Regions from separate parts of the Homo sapiens genome. Here region 2 is linked to region 1. Evidence: promoter capture Hi-C in 16 types of primary human blood cells and fetal thymus (Javierre and others, 2016). All regions are on one chromosome and are shown on one strand. The core of a region is centred on a gene start or on the middle of the fragment in contact, and the rest is flanking DNA. Distances in the headings are between cores, read along the strand shown.

Region 1 (4,536 bases), core at 551-3,050:
AAATGAGCATCTCACTATGTGCTCTGAAGTGGGGACATATTTCTCTGCTTGTTATGGACGGTGAGAGATGGCTAAATTGAAGCAGAGAAATATTTCAGTGATGCAGAGCAAAGGTGACTTCCTGTTTTGTTTCAGGTTTTGTTTCCTTCTCCTCTCAATGAAGGCTGTGTTTTCTGACATTCGGCAATCCTTTTGCTCAGTGATTTCCCATTGAGAGGGCATAGTGTGAAGGCCTCTGCAGGTCATTCCATTTACAATATAAGCTGAAAGGGTAGAGTGGGGCGGGGGTGGGGGGAAGAGGGAGCTCATTAGTGGAAGAAGCAGACCAGGAGGGGATCTGTTTTCCATTTTCTCCTCCAGATTGAACTCATCTGGATGGAAAGGTTTTGATTGTTGTTATAATCATCATTATTACCTGCGTGATGTCGTTTTCCTACACTTTTTTTTTAAGTGTCGGGCAGAATTGTTGCTGAGAATAACAAATAATATCTGCCATGTTATCCGTGAGCAAAATCAGAAAAAAAAAGTCCAAGTGTATTAGAGCTGTTAGTTTCCACGTTAACCCTTAAGGAGCAAAGCTCAAGAGTTCTAATTCCACTAGGTGGGGGGGGCGGGAATAGAAGGAAAAAACCCCTTTTCCTTGCTTCTGGTGGCCTATTTGTAGTCATGAACAGCATTTCTTTGTTTCTCTCTCTCTTTTTTTTTTTTTTTAAAGGCAATCCTCCCCCCACCTCCTCCCCCGCAGTTATTGAAAATGGAGACCTCTGTAGTCACTAGCTCTGGGTTGATATGGCTCCACCGTTGCTCGCAGGGGTCTGTGTTTTCCGCTACTTGGACAAAGTGACATTGCTTAAGCCTTTCCCCCCACCAGGTCTGACTTTCTGCAGAGCCAGTGATTGCAGAGGAAAAGCTGTAGTTTGCTTAAAGGAAATACCTCCAGGAAGGAGGGTCTCGGGTGGGTTCCCAAGTGGGGAACTAGGGGGACTTTTCCGTAGGGAATTGGGGTGGGCTCTTCAGTGAGGGGCTAGGGGCTCGTTTCTGGGGCCAAAGACGGGTTCCCTAGTGTGAGGGCGCGCTCGACTCGGCGCTGTCTTGGGGTCTCGCACTCGCACGGCTTCGCACCCCACCGCCTGCGACTCCCAGGCCTTCTCTTCCCCGGGCGCCCACTCCATTCTCGGGAAGAGCAGCCGGCACTGGAGGGCAGAGACTGCCCCAGGGGCGGAGCTCCCTCTCAGGCGGGAGGTAGGAAAGTGCAGAGCCGCCCGGGCAGAGGCACAGACGTCCCTGCGGGGCTCCTCCTGAGCGTCCCTCCTGCCAGCCAGGGTCGCAGCCGCAGCGGCGGCCGCAGCTCTTAGCCCACACAGGACTTGTAAACTCTTACTGCACCCTTCTCTCCCATTAGGAGCTTTTCCTCCCTCCTTCCCCCCAACCCCTCTGTCCTCCTCACTTTGGGGAATTTAATGCTTTCTTTAGCATCTTTTTGTGTGCGTGATCTAGGGGAGGAGACACCCCAGAGCTCCAACTAGCTCTCAGCTGAATTCTACTTTTGTTTTTATGTCTTCCTCGCCTCCTCTCGTGTCCCTCTTATCTGACTGATCTGCGAAGTCTGATGCTTCTGCCAGAGGGAGAGGAATAAATAGATGTTGCTGCTTCCGAAGGCTTAGACGTTGGGAAAGAGCAGCCTGGGCGGCAGGGGCGGTGGCTGGAGCTCGGTAAAGCTCGTGGGACCCCATTGGGGGAATTTGATCCAAGGAAGCGGTGATTGCCGGGGGAGGAGAAGCTCCCAGATCCTTGTGTCCACTTGCAGCGGGGGAGGCGGAGACGGCGGAGCGGGCCTTTTGGCGTCCACTGCGCGGCTGCACCCTGCCCCATCCTGCCGGGATCATGGTCTGCGGCAGCCCGGGAGGGATGCTGCTGCTGCGGGCCGGGCTGCTTGCCCTGGCTGCTCTCTGCCTGCTCCGGGTGCCCGGGGCTCGGGCTGCAGCCTGTGAGCCCGTCCGCATCCCCCTGTGCAAGTCCCTGCCCTGGAACATGACTAAGATGCCCAACCACCTGCACCACAGCACTCAGGCCAACGCCATCCTGGCCATCGAGCAGTTCGAAGGTCTGCTGGGCACCCACTGCAGCCCCGATCTGCTCTTCTTCCTCTGTGCCATGTACGCGCCCATCTGCACCATTGACTTCCAGCACGAGCCCATCAAGCCCTGTAAGTCTGTGTGCGAGCGGGCCCGGCAGGGCTGTGAGCCCATACTCATCAAGTACCGCCACTCGTGGCCGGAGAACCTGGCCTGCGAGGAGCTGCCAGTGTACGACAGGGGCGTGTGCATCTCTCCCGAGGCCATCGTTACTGCGGACGGAGCTGGTGAGTTTTGACACGGCCCACCCTTCCCTTACCCTACAGCCTCCTCAATTCTTGGAGTCCTTGTTACTAGCCTTTACTCTCTAATTTTTTTCTCTTCGGATCACTTAATCTCTCCCATAACTGCTCCTCTATCAAAGACCCTTCTTCTTCTTTCTTCTTTTTTCAAAAACAAAAACAAAAAAACCCTCACCTTATCACCTTCCAAACTGATGCACTCTGGCACTGTGTTCCAATAGGCGATCTTTCTAAAACAATCCATGCATTCCAAACCCATCACACTTCTACTCCACAGGAATCCTTCACTTCAACTCCTTACATGTGCAAGTAGCCACATTTTGTAAAGTGATGCTCTTTTTCTTTTAAAATGTGTTTATAATCATTGGGTTTTCTTTGCTGATTCTCAGGCAATCTCAGTCATCAGGTTTCTGTATCTTTAGTGTCTTAGATGCTTGTTAAGATTGTGTGGAGGAAACAGAAAACTGAAGCCCCATTTTCTTCTAATTAAAAATGCCAAGATAATTTCAATAACCTTACTCTAACCGACAGATGTTAGGGGTATGTGTTTGCTCAAGATCCAGTTTGAGCAATTACCTTCACCTTAAATTTCCCCCTCCTTTCAATGAGATAAATTGTTCTTCCATTCCAGAATGAAACAATTGTGAAACATTGCTATGCACTGTTAATTAGCTTCTGTGGCTTGCCATAGAGCTGGCAGACTGAAATTACTGAGCTCTTTTCACATGCCCACATGCCTTCAAGTCATTTTATAAGTGGCATACAGATGAAAGGAGTTATATTTAAGGCGTGTTATCATACACTCACGTAATGTTATTTTAAATCTCACCCCTTATTCCACTCTCATGTTTTGAAAAAAAAATTGTCTTTAATACCTTATTTCATGCTCCTTTTCCGTGTGTGCACCAACCACAGTCATTTCAGTCTTTCCCTACCATAAAACTTTATTGCAGCTCTAAATTTAATGGAGTCAATCACAAGTTGTTTTCTCACTAGTGTTTAGTCTAATTATGACATTTGTAACTTTAAGACCCCAACTAAACCTACTTCATTATGGTCCATTTAATTCTAACTCAGTATTACTTCTACCAACTAACCCAACCTCAAATTTTACCCTTCATATATTTTATAAAGAAGGCAATTTTTTTTCATGAGTGGTCCTCTTTCATACCACATCCCCCACCCCCCAACAACTCTGTTCTTAGATGTGTTGACTTGGTTGCCTCCATCTGTTTATTTCTTGGGCATCAACTTTCCTTCCTCTTTCAACTTGCGCAGTCTAGGCGCATGTCCCCAGTCCATTTCCAGGTAGTAATTCTTAGTTATCGGGAAATTGATTTGGAAAAATTACCTTCTGTGCACGTTGACTCATTTAACAAAGTGAGAGAAGGAGAAGTAATTGTAAAAATAGCTGAAGGAAAAAAAATAAACAGAAGAATTTCAAGAACTTTTTAATGGTGACCTCACTTAGTTTATCACTTTTTGAATATACCTATTGTCTTCTTGATTTTAATCAAGAACCAAAAGCTAGTTGTGCAAAATCATCACAGAAATGTATTTGCTATTAATCTTTGCTAAAAGAGCATGCTTGAGGCTTCGTACTCACTAAAGTCACAGACTGCAGAGTCTGGAAGTGCTCAGTGCAGTTGCCGCTCTGGTTTGCCAGGCACTTAGAATCAGTTAAATGCAGGTGCTCCTCTCAGGCCAAGGGCTAGGAATGAGGTGGCAGTGGTTCAGGCTGAAATGCATTCCTCCCCGTAAAGCACAAAACTTGCTCTTAAACCTCCCTTAGAGGTGGACCTAGAGTGAGTGAGGTTTGGCAAGGTTAATGGCTCTCAAAAAGCCATAGTCAATATGGATAGGAAGCAGTTTCATTAAGTGTCCCTGAGTTACCAATCACTGTGGAACAAACATGGAAACAGTTGCCTCATTGAAGCACTCAAATAGGACATGCATGGAAACAATTTGTCAGTTCATGGGACCTGATTTCTAAGCTTCTTTAAAATGCCAGAGTATTTGCTTTACTGGCAGCATCCTTGCTAGAAAAATAGGTGGTAGTTGGAATCATAGTTAGTGATGGCATCCCTGCTCCCTTCCATAAGCTTCAGTGTGAACCAGAGGCTATGATGGCAAGGGGAGCTCAAAGGTGGGGGGAGGTG
Region 2 (4,536 bases), core at 1,423-3,922, 200 kb after region 1:
CCATAGACTTGCAGCATAACCATCACCTGGGAGTTTATGAGAAATAGTATGGCTGGGCGCAGTGGCTGGATGCCTGTAATACCAGCACTTTGGGAGGCCAAGGTGGGCGGATCACTTGGGGTCAGGAGTTTGAGACCAACCTGGCCAACATCGTGAAACCCCATCTCTACTAAAAATACAAAAATTAGCTAGGCTTGGTGGTGTACGCCTGTAAAACCAGTTACTCGGGAGGCTGAGGCAGGAGAATCACTTGAACCCAGGAGGCAAAGGTTGCAGTGAGCCGAGATCACACCACTGCACTCCAGCCAGGACGACAGAGCAAGATTCCATCCACCACCCGCCTCCCCTCTAAAAGAAATAGTGACTCTCAGGTTCTACCATAGTCCTACTGAATTAAAACTTCCACATCAACAAGATTTCTCAGGTGATTCTTATGTGCCTTAAAGCTTGAGAAACATTGGTAGGTGATTGGTTTCCCAAATACTGGTCACCACACCAGGACCATTTGGCTAAATAAGAATGTCTGGAGAGCTTGTTAAAAAGAGGCTTCGGCACCCATCACTAGAGATTTTAATTCAATTGGTCTGAAATCCAGGAATATTAACAAGATCCCCCAGGTGATTGTGATGCATCATTGCCCTAGGCCTAGGACAATCTAGCCCAACTTTGACTTGATCTAGTTCTAGATAAATGATTCTCAACCTTGACTGCACATGAGAATAGCTTGGAGAGCTTTTAAAAGCTATTGATAGCTGGGTCTCACTCTGAGATATTCTGATTTACTTGCCCTGTTGTAGAGCTCAGGACTCTATATTAATTTTTCAAGCTTCCTAGGAGTCTTTAGTGTGCAATTAAGGATTGAGAAATACTAGTCCTTGTAAAACAGTTAAATGGTTTAGGTGGGAACAACTGAAGACCTTGGAATTTTTTCTCTAAACAGGTGTAGGGTAAACCCCCTGAGTACCTTTTGATTCAAGAAGCCAAAAAGAGACCCAGAGCCAGCAAACGAGACATGGGGTTGTACTGGGCACTTATATACAGGGAAGAGAGAATCCAGTGGTGGTGGGCTGGACAAGATATCTGCATGGCCCTGTGGCAGTGAGCTGGCCAGGAAAACCAAAACTGCTTGCAAACAGCATGTGGTTTATATAGCATTTTTACTTAACACCATCATCCCTTAATGACCTGCACCTGGCAACCTTCATGTGCTCCAAATGGGCCCGTGTGTGGCCCATGTTCCCATGGGATGCTCCGAGGGCTCAGATGTTCCTAATAGACAAGGAATGAATCTCTGGGTTGGCCACTCCCGGATTCCTTAGCTCAGAACGCACACGCAGGTGCGTCTGCCATATGGGAGCATTTTCAGGGTATGCTTATGTCATTGCTATCAGGGTGTTTACCATACACATGGCGTAAAAGGTGGATTCAAAGGAGAGAGTTAAGAAGTGTGGGAACCACCTATGATAAGGCAGTCAAGAGCTGTGCGAATAGAATGTAAAATACAAGGGATTATAAACAGAATTAATGACGAAAATATGAGTGATGGGGAGTTCATTAAAAATCTTTAATCAGGAAGATGGGAAAGAAATAACATGCTTAATAGGGAAAAATAGCGAAGGTTGCTGTTTTAAAGAAGGGTGAGATCTTAACAAAAGGTAAAGTCAGAGAAGAGACTGAAAATAGAAAACAAAACAAACTTCCAACTTTTAATACATGGAAACTATAGCAAAATTCAACAAATTTTCCTTGACTGGTGGGAATATTTGTTAAAAGATGGGTTAAAAACCCACATCTGGGAACAGTCTTTGACTTTGTCAAAACAATAATTCCCATCACTTTAATTAAGCAACACCTGACCCTACTGGGCTATTGTATTAAAAGTCACACCTAACAAACAAAATGGGCCAAAACAAGTAGTATTCCTTTGTTTTGAGGAATGATCTTTGGAGTCCTGTAAATAGTGTGTCTGGGGTGAGTGAAGGGTCAGTACACTTAATCTTGCCTTATTAAAGGTTATTTGGTCTTTTCAGTCTAGAATAGCTTCTTTGGGGGAAACAGTTAATTCAAAGTTCAACCTTCCTGAAAGGCTGTTTCTCTCCTCTATCAAAGGCCTCTTGAAAGGAAAATGGATATGCTGTGGTCAAGAATAGGCCAAGATAAACATCCAGTACAGCATGATGAGTGGGATTGGAGCACAGGTGCACAGTCCCATGCATTATGTAACCTGTTTGTTAAGCTCATACTTGGCTCTGAGCCACTGTTGTCTGTAAGGAGTGTAACTGCCCTGCTGCCACCGGCTCGCACGAGGCAGGAGAGAGAGAGAGAGTAAAGCTGCTGACTCTGTAAGAGAGAGCCAGAGCTAACCACCTTGCAGGCAGACAGTGGGGAGCCAGGAAATGGTGAGTGCTCCAGGGAGTGCAGCTGTATGCGTTGGGGCAGCAGGAGCCGAAGAGCTGGCTGCTGAGAAGGGCTGTGGCAGGAGCAGGCAGCCGAGACAAAGGCTTGTGCCCAGAGAGAGAATAAAGCCATATTTCACCTGACTGCAGCCCCCTGAGTGTTCTTTCAACTACCTACCAGTCATCCACCAACTCCCCCTTGAACCTCAGTTTGGGCTCAAACCTGACATCTCTCTTCCATTTCCTCCATTTCTAGAGACTGTCTAGGGGTATGCATGTGTGTGTGGCTTACAGTTACTCTTGGTGGCCTCTATTGGTTTTTTTTGCCTTTTTTTCGGTCTCATGCTAGTCTCCACTGAAGTGAAGTTGATTGGTCTGGTCTAATCTTGCAGAGGTATGCTTATAACACTCATCTGTAAGTGCCCTCTGCCTAAGTCCATGGTTCCTACCATTTGTCACTGTTGTGATGTGCCTGCCCCATATCTCCTGTCTTGACTGCAGATCTCTAGTTGTCCAGCATCCTTCTCAGAACCCCTACAAATCCTACGTCTCTGAGCCCTTGGGAATCATAAGTCAGCTGTGGAGAATTGGTGCTACCTCAGGCTACTCTTAAATACTCACTGCTCTCTGATCATGGACTAATACCTCTCAGCCATGCTATACTGAGAAGGACAGAGCAGCCTCCCAGATAATTTTGGATTCCTTCTCCACCCATTTAGGAATCTCTTTTCCCTTTGACTGAAGTCCATGGGTTGGGAAGGGTGTTGCATCTTCATCAGCACCATCCCACTTCCCTCCTTCAATCCTTTCCCTTAGCAGACTCTAATATCTCTGGTGGGACTTCCTTGATATTATATCTCAAGTATTCTTTACACTATGGCTTCTAATAAAGCCCTATTTTCAGATCCCAAGGGTTTACTTTTCATTTGAAAGAAAGAGATTTTGGAACTTATAAAATCTCTCATTTTGGGTTGCAGTTTTGGAAGTTGAACATTGACATTGTTCTGTCTTTTCCAGATATAGCAATTCTAATCCCTCTGTGACAGAATCTCTTCTGTTTGGACTGTTGACTCACAAAGCCTAAAATATTTACAATCTGGTCCTTTACAGAAAATGTTTGTTGACTTCACATGTGCAGAAAGGAATCTAAAAGTTTAGGACTCCAAAGACTTCGAACAGGAATGATTTGTTATATGGGTGCTGTGTCCCTCTACCCTCAACTGTATTGTCTGAGGAGACTCAGAGGATACTCCCTTGAAAGCAGTGAGAAACACATTAGTGAGGGGAACACCCACACTCTGAAGAGCACTGTAGTGGCTCTCATATGTAAGCCACATATGATGGTGGGAAATACCACCATTGTGATGGGTTCCCTGATTCCAATAGGGATGATGGGACCCTGAAAGAGCAGAGGCCAATGGACAATACTTAACTGCCAAAGATAAAGCAGCCATATTTGTTATAAAGGCTGGCAGATTCTGATTACTGTAAAGGTAATCAGACTATTTAGACCTGCAGGAATTTTTGGTAGTGACTAATTGACCATGTGGTTACCAGAAATGAAAATGATGAGCAGCCTACTAAAAAGCTGCTTAATTTATAAAACAGAAACTGCAGGTCTGGTGGCTAAAAACCTGACTTGAGCCACCTAGTGGAGAGTGATGGATTTCTACCTACTTTTTAGAGCTAAACCAGTTCACAGGTTAGAACCCCCTGATTCAAGGGGAGGCCAGGTTCTTTTGAAGAAGGATGCTACAGCAGAACCAAATATAGAATGTAAAATTTCCCCTGATTCTTTCCCAAAGGGTGACTTACTAGCAGGACTGTGCACTGGGAAAAAGGAAGTACCTAGACCGTGACTGTGTACTGGGAAAAAGGAAATACCCAGACTATTCAGATATTCCTAGACACTTAATATGAACTGATGCTATTCCTGGGCACTCCAAACCTGCTATACTGTACCAGTCAAATGGGAGCTTATGGTGGCCAGGTGATAGACAAAGGCTTAGATAGAGGTAGAAGTTAGCTGGTAATTTCTTCCCTGGTTCCTGAATGTAGAGTTGCAATAGACATACTTGGCAATTGGCAAAATCTCTGTTTCTTGCTACCTTGTCAAGCTTTACCCTTTTGAGTATGTTAT

Evidence for each region. Contacts are between HindIII fragments. The CHiCAGO score rates a contact against its expected background, and 5 or more counts as called.
Region 2: a contact is called between a fragment that was not itself captured here and the fragment with the promoter of FRZB in region 1, in 1 of 17 cell types (fetal thymus). The highest score is 5.3, in fetal thymus.

What each region holds. Positions count from the first base shown.
Region 1 is chr2:182,863,901-182,868,436 of GRCh38, reverse strand. It overlaps FRZB (frizzled related protein), which reads left to right and starts at 1,800. Exons shown (of 6, transcript NM_001463.4): 1 at 1,800-2,362. The coding sequence starts at 1,885. RefSeq lists an enhancer at 1,669-2,637. The HindIII fragment of the contact is 6,424 bases long and covers 1-4,373 here.
Region 2 is chr2:182,666,633-182,671,168 of GRCh38, reverse strand. All of the region lies in intron 6 of LOC101929976 (a long non-coding RNA gene), which reads left to right. It also overlaps a transcript of PDE1A not described here. Among named protein-coding and RNA genes, the nearest start is that of DNAJC10, 47 kb to the left of the region's middle. The HindIII fragment of the contact is 3,687 bases long and covers 829-4,515 here.